2 separate regions of the Homo sapiens genome follow, and region 2 is linked to region 1. Evidence: promoter capture Hi-C in human tissues and cell types (Jung and others, 2019). All regions are on one chromosome and are shown on one strand. Each heading gives the region's core, a stretch centred on a gene start or on the middle of the fragment in contact. The rest is flanking DNA. Distances are from core to core; before and after follow the strand shown. Region 1 holds the start of RNASEK-C17orf49 (RNASEK-C17orf49 readthrough). Region 2 overlaps XAF1 (XIAP associated factor 1).

Region 1 (4,439 bases), core at 1,088-3,587:
TTCAAATGGCCATCTCATGGCATCTGAGTCGCCGCCAGCCAGACATGGTGAGAGGGGACTCTCGGGAGAGGGAAATGACAGTTGGAAAGGAAACATCAGAGTGAGGGGCTGGGCTCTAGGTGCGTTTGTCTTTAGAAACTGACTGATCCTTTGTTCTGTCTCAGGTGCCTCTGGGGCACCACAAAGAAAAATATTTCTCAGGCCCCAAGCCCAAAGCTGTGCTAAACCAATTCCGAACAGATTTGGAAAAGCTGGAAAAGGAGATTACAGCCCGGAATGAGCAACTTGACTGGCCCTATGAATATCTGAAGCCCAGCTGCATAGAGAACAGTGTCACCATCTGAGCCCTAGAGTGACTCTACCTGCAAGATTTCACATCAGCTTTAGGACTGACATTTCTATCTTGAATTTCATGCTTTCCTAAAGTCTCTGCTGCTAAGGCTCTATTTCCTCCCCCAGTTAAACCCCCTACATTAGTATCCCACTAGCCCAGGGGAGCAGTAAACTTTCTCTGCAAAGACTAGATCCTTTTTTACGCTTTGCAGACCGCATAGTCACTGTCTCAACTACTCAGCTCTCCTGCTGCAGCATGAAGGCAGCCACAGACAACATGGAAATGAGTGTGACTATGTTCCAATAAAACTTTATGGACACTGAGATATGAATGTTACATCACAAAGTAGTCTTCTTTTGGTTTATTCAACCATTTAAAATGCAAAAAAAATCCACAAACAAATGTGCTTTGTTTGAGACATGCACAGCCAGGCTACAGACTGGATTTGGCCCTTGAACCCTGCACTAGCCTGAGGCCCTGACCCTACTTCCAAAACATCCAAGATCATGGAGCAGGGGGATTTCTTAGAAAAATCAGCTTACCTCAGCTAACTCTCCATTCCCAGGAACTAACCTTCATGCCTGGTGGCCAATGTACAAATTCCTGACTCAGTTCTTTGGCAAATTCCTTCCACCCATATTTCTCCTATTCACCCATGTACCCCAAAAGTCCCTGAATAAGAATCATGTTTTTGGGGCAGAATACAAACCACTGCCCCAAAATGGCTTCTTTCTCCAAACAGTCCCAGATGAAAGGCACATAATTCATGTCTTAAGGCTACTTTTCCAGCCCCTTTAATACTCTGGGATCTATGTGTTTCCCACATTCCAAGTTATCTTTCACAAGCCTTTTAAGAACAACATGCACAAAATAAATGGACAAGAACTACAAAGTTATTCTAGCCAATGATAGTGTTTATTTGTTAGGTCCTGGGGTCTCAAGGTCAAATGATCCCTCTCAATTATTCTGAGGTCACTGTCCTCACTAGAGTGGGTACAACTTGCTCACTGCAAAACTGTGTTCTTCAAACATCCCTACTTCTTTTCTTTTCTTTTTTTTTTTTTTTTTAGAAGTAGTCTCTATCGCCCAGGCGGGAATGCAGTGGCGCCATCTCAGCTCACTGCAACCTTCGCCTCCCGGGTTCAAGGGATTATCCCGCCTCACCATCCCGAGTGGCTGGGATCACAAGCTCATGCCACCACATCCAGCTAATTTTTGTAATTTTTAGTAGAGACAGGGTTTCGCCATGTTGACCTGGCTGGTCTCGAACTCCCGACCTCAGGTGATCCGCCCGCCTCGACATTCCTATTTCTAAATAATTATTACAGATCTGTCACTCACCAGTTAAACATACAAACGGCTTTTTTGGAGGGGATGACCTATTTATATTTTTAAATCTTATATCCTACCTTATTCAAAAGTCCTATCAGTTTTCCTAGTTTAGAGAAGCAAAGTGACATTTTTGTGTACATTTAACAGGACTGCTTACCTTCACAACCTGCTCAGTCGGCTTTCCCTGGACTTCTCCTAACCGCCCATTTTTCCTGGATTTGGCACCGAGAGTTACAGTATTTCACGTGCGATGATAAAATGTTACTTAGGAGAAACAGTTCCAATACCAAGAAACTTCAGCAATTTTAAAGCATTTTAAAGCCACAAAACCATGCCCGATCCCCAAAAGGGGGTCCTAACTCCTTTACACTGTCAGAATCTCAATTTTAAAAGGGAGGAGTAGAGAAGAGATAGAAACGCTCTCTGTTGGTGAAAATCTGTCTTACTTACCATTTCCCCAACACAGGAGAGACTAAGGAATTTCAGGTAAAAATCAGATGGCTCCAATCCTCCGATACTAAGAGCCCATCGCCCCAGTTCCCAGGAGTTCCGCCAGTTAGACTTTTTCCCCCATGGCCTCGCTAAGGCTAGTTCCTCGTCACGTGACGTGACAGGCTTGGTCACGTGACATACCAGCTCCTTCCATTCCCGTGTGCGGGGGGAGGGGGACCAACAAACCGGAGGCCCTCGCTCTTCCAATACTCACGCCCTAGCTACAGAGGTCAAGGAAGGTTTCCCCAGGAGCAGTTTTGGTTTCAGACGGCGCCGTCTCCCGCGAAAGTCCTGAGAGGAGCCCAGCCTTTTCCGCCTGCCGCCCCCGGATGGGATGGTTGAGGCCGGGGCCACGCCCCCTCTGCCCCCCTGCGAGGGCATCCTGGGCTTTCTCCCACCGCTTTCCGAGCCCGCTTGCACCTCGGCGATCCCCGACTCCCTTCTTTATGGCGTCGCTCCTGTGCTGTGGGCCGAAGCTGGCCGCCTGCGGCATCGTCCTCAGCGCCTGGGGAGTGATCATGTTGGTGAGGGGACTCCCCGGCAAGGATCGGAGAGGGCCTGAGGGGCTCCGGGCTGGGAGGGCTGGGAGGCGAGGAAACTCTGGGCCGCAGGCAGGCCGGAGGGGCCGGGGATCTACAGGCCCCGGAGAAGGAGACAGACTGAAATTGAAAAATGGGAACTGTTCGAGACCAGCCTGACCAACATGGTGAAACCCCGTCTCCAATAAAAATACAAAAATTAGCCGGGCGTGGTGGCGCCCGCCTGTAATCCCAGCTACTCAGGAGGCTGAGGCAGGAGAATCGCTTGAATCCGGGAGGCGGAGGGTGCAGTGAGCCGAGATCGCGCCACTGCACTCCAGCCTGGGTGACAGAGCGAGACTCCGTCCCCAAAGAAAAAGAAAAAAGGGAACTGGAGCGGAGGGCCCTGGAGTGGGAGGAGCCAGGGCTGGTAAAGGTGGAGACCCCTCAAGGTAGGAGAAACAAGAGCGGGGTGCCTGAGAGGTGCTTGAGTTGAATGGAGGACATGGGAGGAAAAGAGAGTGCTTGTTCCAGAAATGTGTAGCTGGGCCTTGTTTTCCCAGTAATCCACCCACCGCCACTTCAAGAAGAAATGATATGAAGAAGTGCCGGTTCTCCCTCCCCTCTTCCGCACTGTCCCGTGATGATGACGCCTCCAGAGAGGACGATAATCTGGGTTCCTGGGAGAGATGGCTTGGTCACTATTCCCACCCTTGCCTCGACCACTTGTCTCAATGTCACCACCTCACGCCCTGTTCCAGGTGGCTGAGTCCGAATCCAGTAACCACCACCTCGTTTTGGTTAATCTCAGGCTCGGGTGTTGTAGCAACATTGGAAATGGGAGGGGTTTACGAAGTGAACATGAGGTCAGGTGCCTGAATTCAACAGTCTACCCATTCCCCTTTTCCAGATAATGCTCGGAATATTTTTCAATGTCCATTCCGCTGTGTTGATTGAGGACGTTCCCTTCACGGAGAAAGATTTTGAGTAAGTATTCGGGTGGGGGAGGCGGGCTGGGAGCAGGTGGGAGGTGGCGAGGCCTAGGGTCAGAATTACGTCTGGGAGGCCCGGTGCTTAGGGCCCCTAGGTTAGAGGACTTGGAGAGGAGAGCGGCTTTCTTGAGAATGTGGTTAGGAGCCAGGGAGTCAGACCTCAGCGGCCATCCCAAACCCACCACCTTAGGTGTGACCTCTTTAGGTATTTTACTTTTCTGTGCTTCTCAGTCCACCTCTGCAAAATGGCTATGACAGATCTCACCCCATAGGATGGTCAAGAAGATTGAATAAAGTAATACACGTAACAGCGCCTAAACAGGTGTCGGGCACATAGTGCTCAGAAAATGTTGGCTCCTATTAAAGTTTGACCCCTTTGCTTCATTCCCACCCCCAGGAATGGCCCCCAGAACATATACAACCTTTACGAGCAAGTCAGCTACAACTGTTTCATCGCTGCAGGCCTTTACCTCCTCCTCGGAGGCTTCTCTTTCTGCCAAGTTCGGCTCAATAAGCGCAAGGAATACATGGTGCGCTAGGGCCCCGGCGCGTTTCCCCGCTCCAGCCCCTCCTCTATTTAAAGACTCCCTGCACCGTGTCACCCAGGTCGCGTCCCACCCTTGCCGGCGCCCTCTGCGGGACTGGGTTTCCCGGGCGAGAGACTGAATCCCTTCTCCCATCTCTGGCATCCGGCCCCCGTGGAGAGGGCTGAGGCTGGGGGGCTGTTCCGTTTCTCCACCCTTCGCTGTGTCCCGTATCTCAATAAAGAGA
Region 2 (4,567 bases), core at 1,123-3,622, 250 kb before region 1:
ACCGCAGGTTATCCGCCTTCCTCGGCCTCCCAAAGTTAATGGCCTTTTTACGGTCATCCCACATTTTGTTTCTCTACTTGTTGGTAAACATTCGGATTGTTTCCACCTTTCAGCTCTTTGCTTTTTGAAGTGCAGTCTGTGGACCAGCTGCATGAGCATCACCTGGAATCCTGTTAGAAATGCAGAATCTCAGGCCCTCCCCCTAGAAATGCTAAATCAGAATATGCAGGGTCACATGATTTCCCAGGCATTTCAAGTCTGAGATGCGCTGCCCCAGCCACGGGATTCTCAGCCTTGGCTGTACGTGGAAATCACCTACTGACTTGTTTTCCTTAGTACTGATGTTTATTCGATCCTATAAGTGGTCCATGTGTTCTGTTTGAATGAGAAAATACTTGGTGAGCACCAAAACAAGAGTAAAGCTGACTACTTCCCTTCAAATGTCCAGCCTGGCAACCAGGGCACCTACACACTTATTTGAAGGCTACAGGGAAGTGGGGAGCTCCAATACACATGGAACTGGATTTGTGCTCAGAAACTCTGAATTTTAGTTCTGCTGTGCCCCTTACTGGCTGTGTAACCTCTCTGAGCTTCTTTCTTCTTTTGAGGAAAATGGGGATAATGGTTTATCTCCTTGTTCAGGAAAAGAAGACATCCACAACCAGCCAACACCAGATCTATCTCCTTGGCAGCATCCACACTCACTTACTTTGCCTTCCCACCTCTTAACCATAGAGGAGCTTCCTATGTGCCTCTCTAAAGCCTATCCCCTCCTACTGGTATAATATACCCTCTCTTTTTGCCTACACAAGGTCACACAAGTTTTTTGCTACACTGCTCCAGCAATTCTCCCCTCTCTGTCCTGCAACAGAGAGAGGTTAAATGAGCTGTACACGCAGGTAACAACAAAGTCTCACATCTCTAGGTTGTCCTAACATTTCTTACAATAACTTTTTAAAGGGGTACCACTATTGAATATTTATATATCAATGGCCTTGCACGAAAAGAATTTTTTTTTAATTTTGAAAATTAAGGATTGAAATCATGTATACTAGGTGGTTTTGTGGTTTTCAGTCTTTAACTTTTTATTAATATGACCCAAAGCCAGAAAAACATGAAATACTTCTGATCCCATTTCCTATAAGCTACCATCTTGTTTCTTTGTTCCCCTCCGTAGAAAAACATTTGAGCTAGTTGTCTATAAGTAACTGCCTCCATCTTTTCTTCTCTCATTCTTATTCCCACTCCAGTCTGGCTCTCCATTTTAACCAAATCTGCTCTTGTCAAAATCAATGACCTCTGCATTGCTAAATCCAATGCTCAGTTCTCAGTTCTCAATTTATGGGAAGCATTTACTGCTCATCACTCCCTCTTCCTCAGTGGACTTTCTCGGCTTCCAGGGTACCACACTTTCCTGGTTTTCAAGGACATTGGTGGTCTCTCATTCTCTACCTCCCCAGCCTCTTAATTTTGGGGGGCCCCAGGGCTTAGTCTCTGGTCTCTTCTCTACCTATATTCACTGCCTTCATTATTTCATCCTACCTCCTGATTTTTAAAAATGCCATATGTAAGGCCGGGTATGGTGGCTCATGCCTGTAATCCCAGCACTTTGGGAGGCCGAGGTGGGAGGATCACAAGGTCAGGAGATCGAGACCAACCTGGCTAACACAGTGAACTCTCGTCTCTACTAAAAATACAAAAACTTAGCCGGGTGTGGTGGTGGGTGACTATAGTCCCAGCTACTCGGGAGGCTGAGGCAGGAGAATGGCGTGAACCCAGGAGGCGGAGCTTGCAGTGAGCCGAGATCACGCCACTACACTGCAGCCTGGGCGACAGAGCGAGACTCCATCTCAAAAAATAGATAAATAAATAAAAATTTAAAAATTTTTTAAAAAGCCATATGTAGTCAGACACTTCCAAATTTATATCTCAGTCTGGGTTTTTCTCCCCAAACTCTAGATTTGTATATTACTATTTACTGCATCTTCACTTGAATGCTTGATAGACATCTTAAATGTAACACATCTGAAATGGAATCCTCTCTGCCACAGCTTGGCCCATCTCAGTTGATGGCAACTCTATCTTTCCAGTTGTTCAGGCCAAAATCTCAGGTTCACTCTCGACTTCTCTTTCCCTCCGCATTGCTACCCTGGTATGAACCATCATCTTCTCTAGCCCAGATGCTGCAGCAGTCTCCTAAACGGTCTTCCTACTTCTCACCTTGCCCCCTACAGTCTATTCTCATCACAGAGGTCAACGTGATCCCTTAAAAATACAAGTCAGATTGTTTGGCTCCTCTGTTCAGATCTCTGTACTGATTCTTGCCCCATTTTATGCAAACTCAAAACTACAGTGGCTTTAGAGATCTATGTCATCTTTGCCTCCCTTCTTATCTCATCACCTCTTTGATCTCATGTACTACTCCTGTTCAGCTCACTGGCCTCCTGATTGTTTCTTGAGCATACCATGCCTTAGGGCCTTTTCACTGGCTACTGCCTCTGGCTGGAAGCTACCTCCTCACCTTCCCCACCCTACTCCAGGAGCTAACTCTCTCACTTCTCTCAAGTCTTTGCCCAGATGGCACCTTCTCAAGGAGATGTACCACAACAACCTATTTAAAATTGCAACTCCCTCTCCATCACATATTTACCAACCCCTTACCTTCTTCTATTATTTTTTCCATAGCATTTGCCAACTTCTAACATATTATCTAATTTACTTACTTATTATGGCCCTTGTTAATTGTCTCCCACGACCTCAGAAAAACTATAAGCCCCACTGGTCCCCTTCATGCTAACTACTCCCCAGACACAAATACTCTACTTTTGCTTTTAGCTGTTTCTTCTGGTAATCACCTTCATATGTCTAAAGCACCTTCTTATATTTTTTCCAGTTTTAGATATTACTTATTGACTCATAAGGATTTAGGAATATAGATTTCACTTTTTTATACCACCCATCCCACACACACACCTCCAAAGTTCTTCATTTCATCCTTCCAATGTATTGATTTCACTCATTCTGGTTAAATAAATATTCAGTATTACATTAGTATAACCATGTAAACATTATAAATGGTTTTCCACATGAATTGTGATTATGTGTTCTTTCTCCTACAACTTTTTGTTTTACCTGGACTTAATAATTGCTTCGGTTTTTCATTTGCTTCACTTTCTAGGTACCTATCACTAAATCATCCCTAAAATTCTCTACCAGATCTGAAAATTCCCCTGAGTACAACTACACACATCAGATAGTCTGTCCATTTCATTTTGGGAGCATGTTATGCCCCAGGCTTGATGATTAGCTGTTGGTCTGGAATTTCTTCCACTCTCTCCACGGTTGGAGTTCTGATTCCCAAATCTCAGGTCTCATCTTTCTCTTTCTTAGGTTACTCCTTGTTTGATAGAACATATCCCCAAATAGTTTCTTGAGAAAGAAAGCATGAGAGGCAAATTTTTTAGGCCTTATATGTCTGAAAATGAAAGCTTGGGTGGCTATAGAATCTATTGACCATCTTAATCTGTTTATTAAAAATCTTATTACAATTCTGATTTGGCCACTACACACTGTATACATGTATTAGAAAATCATTCTGTATTCTATAAGTATGTATCATTATTACTTGTCCACTAAAAATAAAAGAAATAAAATTGATTACAAAAACTTTCAAATAAATATGACAGTAGAAAGTTAATACAATAAACATTCATGTATTTACTCCCCAGATACAACAGTTGTTGTTCTAAACAAGGTGAATAAAAATAAATCTACTCTTAGATACATTACAGGTAAAAGGCAAAGGTTGATTTCTTTGAAATCAGCCGAAGAAGATTACAAGCAAAGGAATGGCAGTTAGGCTGAAAGCAAATATATCGACAGCAATAATAGAAGTGGGTATGCAGTGGAATAATCTTCAAAGTGCTAAGAGAAAATAGCTGTTAACACGTGGAAATCAAAAGTTTTCCAGGCTTGAACTATACTTTGTTTGTTTTCTTTTTTCTAAAGTATGTTAAAGCAAATCCAAGATATCCTGTTATTTCACCATCATTCTTTAATATCTCAAAAATACAGTCATTTTCTTAATCACAATGCCTTTATCACTCTCAATGATGTTAACAATAATTTTCCCCCATCGTTTTGGGGCCTTGCATTTACCACTCTTGTTCATTACTACTGCTGCTGCTGCTGCTGCTGCTGCTGCTTGCTTCTCCCTTGTATTCTATTGGATTGAGCAAGATTTCTTTATTCTCTTTCTTCTTTCCTACTGATTCGTCAATTTTACATTTATTTCTATCATTTCAATAGTTACCCTTAACATTTTAATATAAATACTTGACTTAATAAAGTCTAAAGTTAGTCATTATCTCTACTTTCCTTACAAATAGTATATAGATTTGAGAACATGTTAACACTGTAACTATCTTACATGAAAATGCTGCCAGAATTTTGTTTCATTTTGCTTTCATACTACCCCTCTTTACTGATTATTGTTGTTATTTATGTAACTCATGCCTGTTTAGATATACTCACATGTTTTTGTTTTTGCTTTTTTTCTTTCTTTCTT

Evidence for each region. The method cuts DNA at HindIII sites, captures the fragments that hold promoters and counts their contacts. A contact is called where the count stands out against the background at its distance.
Region 2: a contact is called between a fragment that was not itself captured here and the fragment with the promoter of RNASEK-C17orf49 in region 1, in 2 of the 25 tissues and cell types used here (H1 embryonic stem cells and lymphoblastoid cells).

What each region holds. Positions count from the first base shown.
Region 1 is chr17:7,010,080-7,014,518 of GRCh38, forward strand. It overlaps RNASEK-C17orf49 (RNASEK-C17orf49 readthrough), which reads left to right and starts at 2,338. Exons shown (of 8, transcript NR_037717.1): 1 at 2,338-2,678; 2 at 3,587-3,663; 3 at 4,066-4,439. RNASEK (ribonuclease K) reads left to right here and starts at 2,545. Exons shown (of 3, transcript NM_001004333.5): 1 at 2,545-2,682; 2 at 3,587-3,663; 3 at 4,066-4,439. The coding sequence starts at 2,605. The coding sequence ends at 4,207. It overlaps ALOX12-AS1 (ALOX12 antisense RNA 1), which reads right to left and starts at 2,255. Exons shown (of 3, transcript NR_040089.1): 1 at 2,117-2,255. ALOX12 (arachidonate 12-lipoxygenase, 12S type) reads left to right here. Exons shown (of 14, transcript NM_000697.3): 13 at 1-47; 14 at 165-675. The coding sequence ends at 344. RefSeq lists enhancers at 1,906-2,526, 2,606-2,725, 2,806-2,985, 4,165-4,439, 4,416-4,439. The HindIII fragment of the contact is 15,519 bases long and covers 1-4,439 here.
Region 2 is chr17:6,763,561-6,768,127 of GRCh38, forward strand. All of the region lies in intron 5 of XAF1 (XIAP associated factor 1), which reads left to right. Among named protein-coding and RNA genes, the nearest start is that of XAF1, 9.8 kb to the left of the region's middle. The HindIII fragment of the contact is 6,608 bases long and covers 1-4,567 here.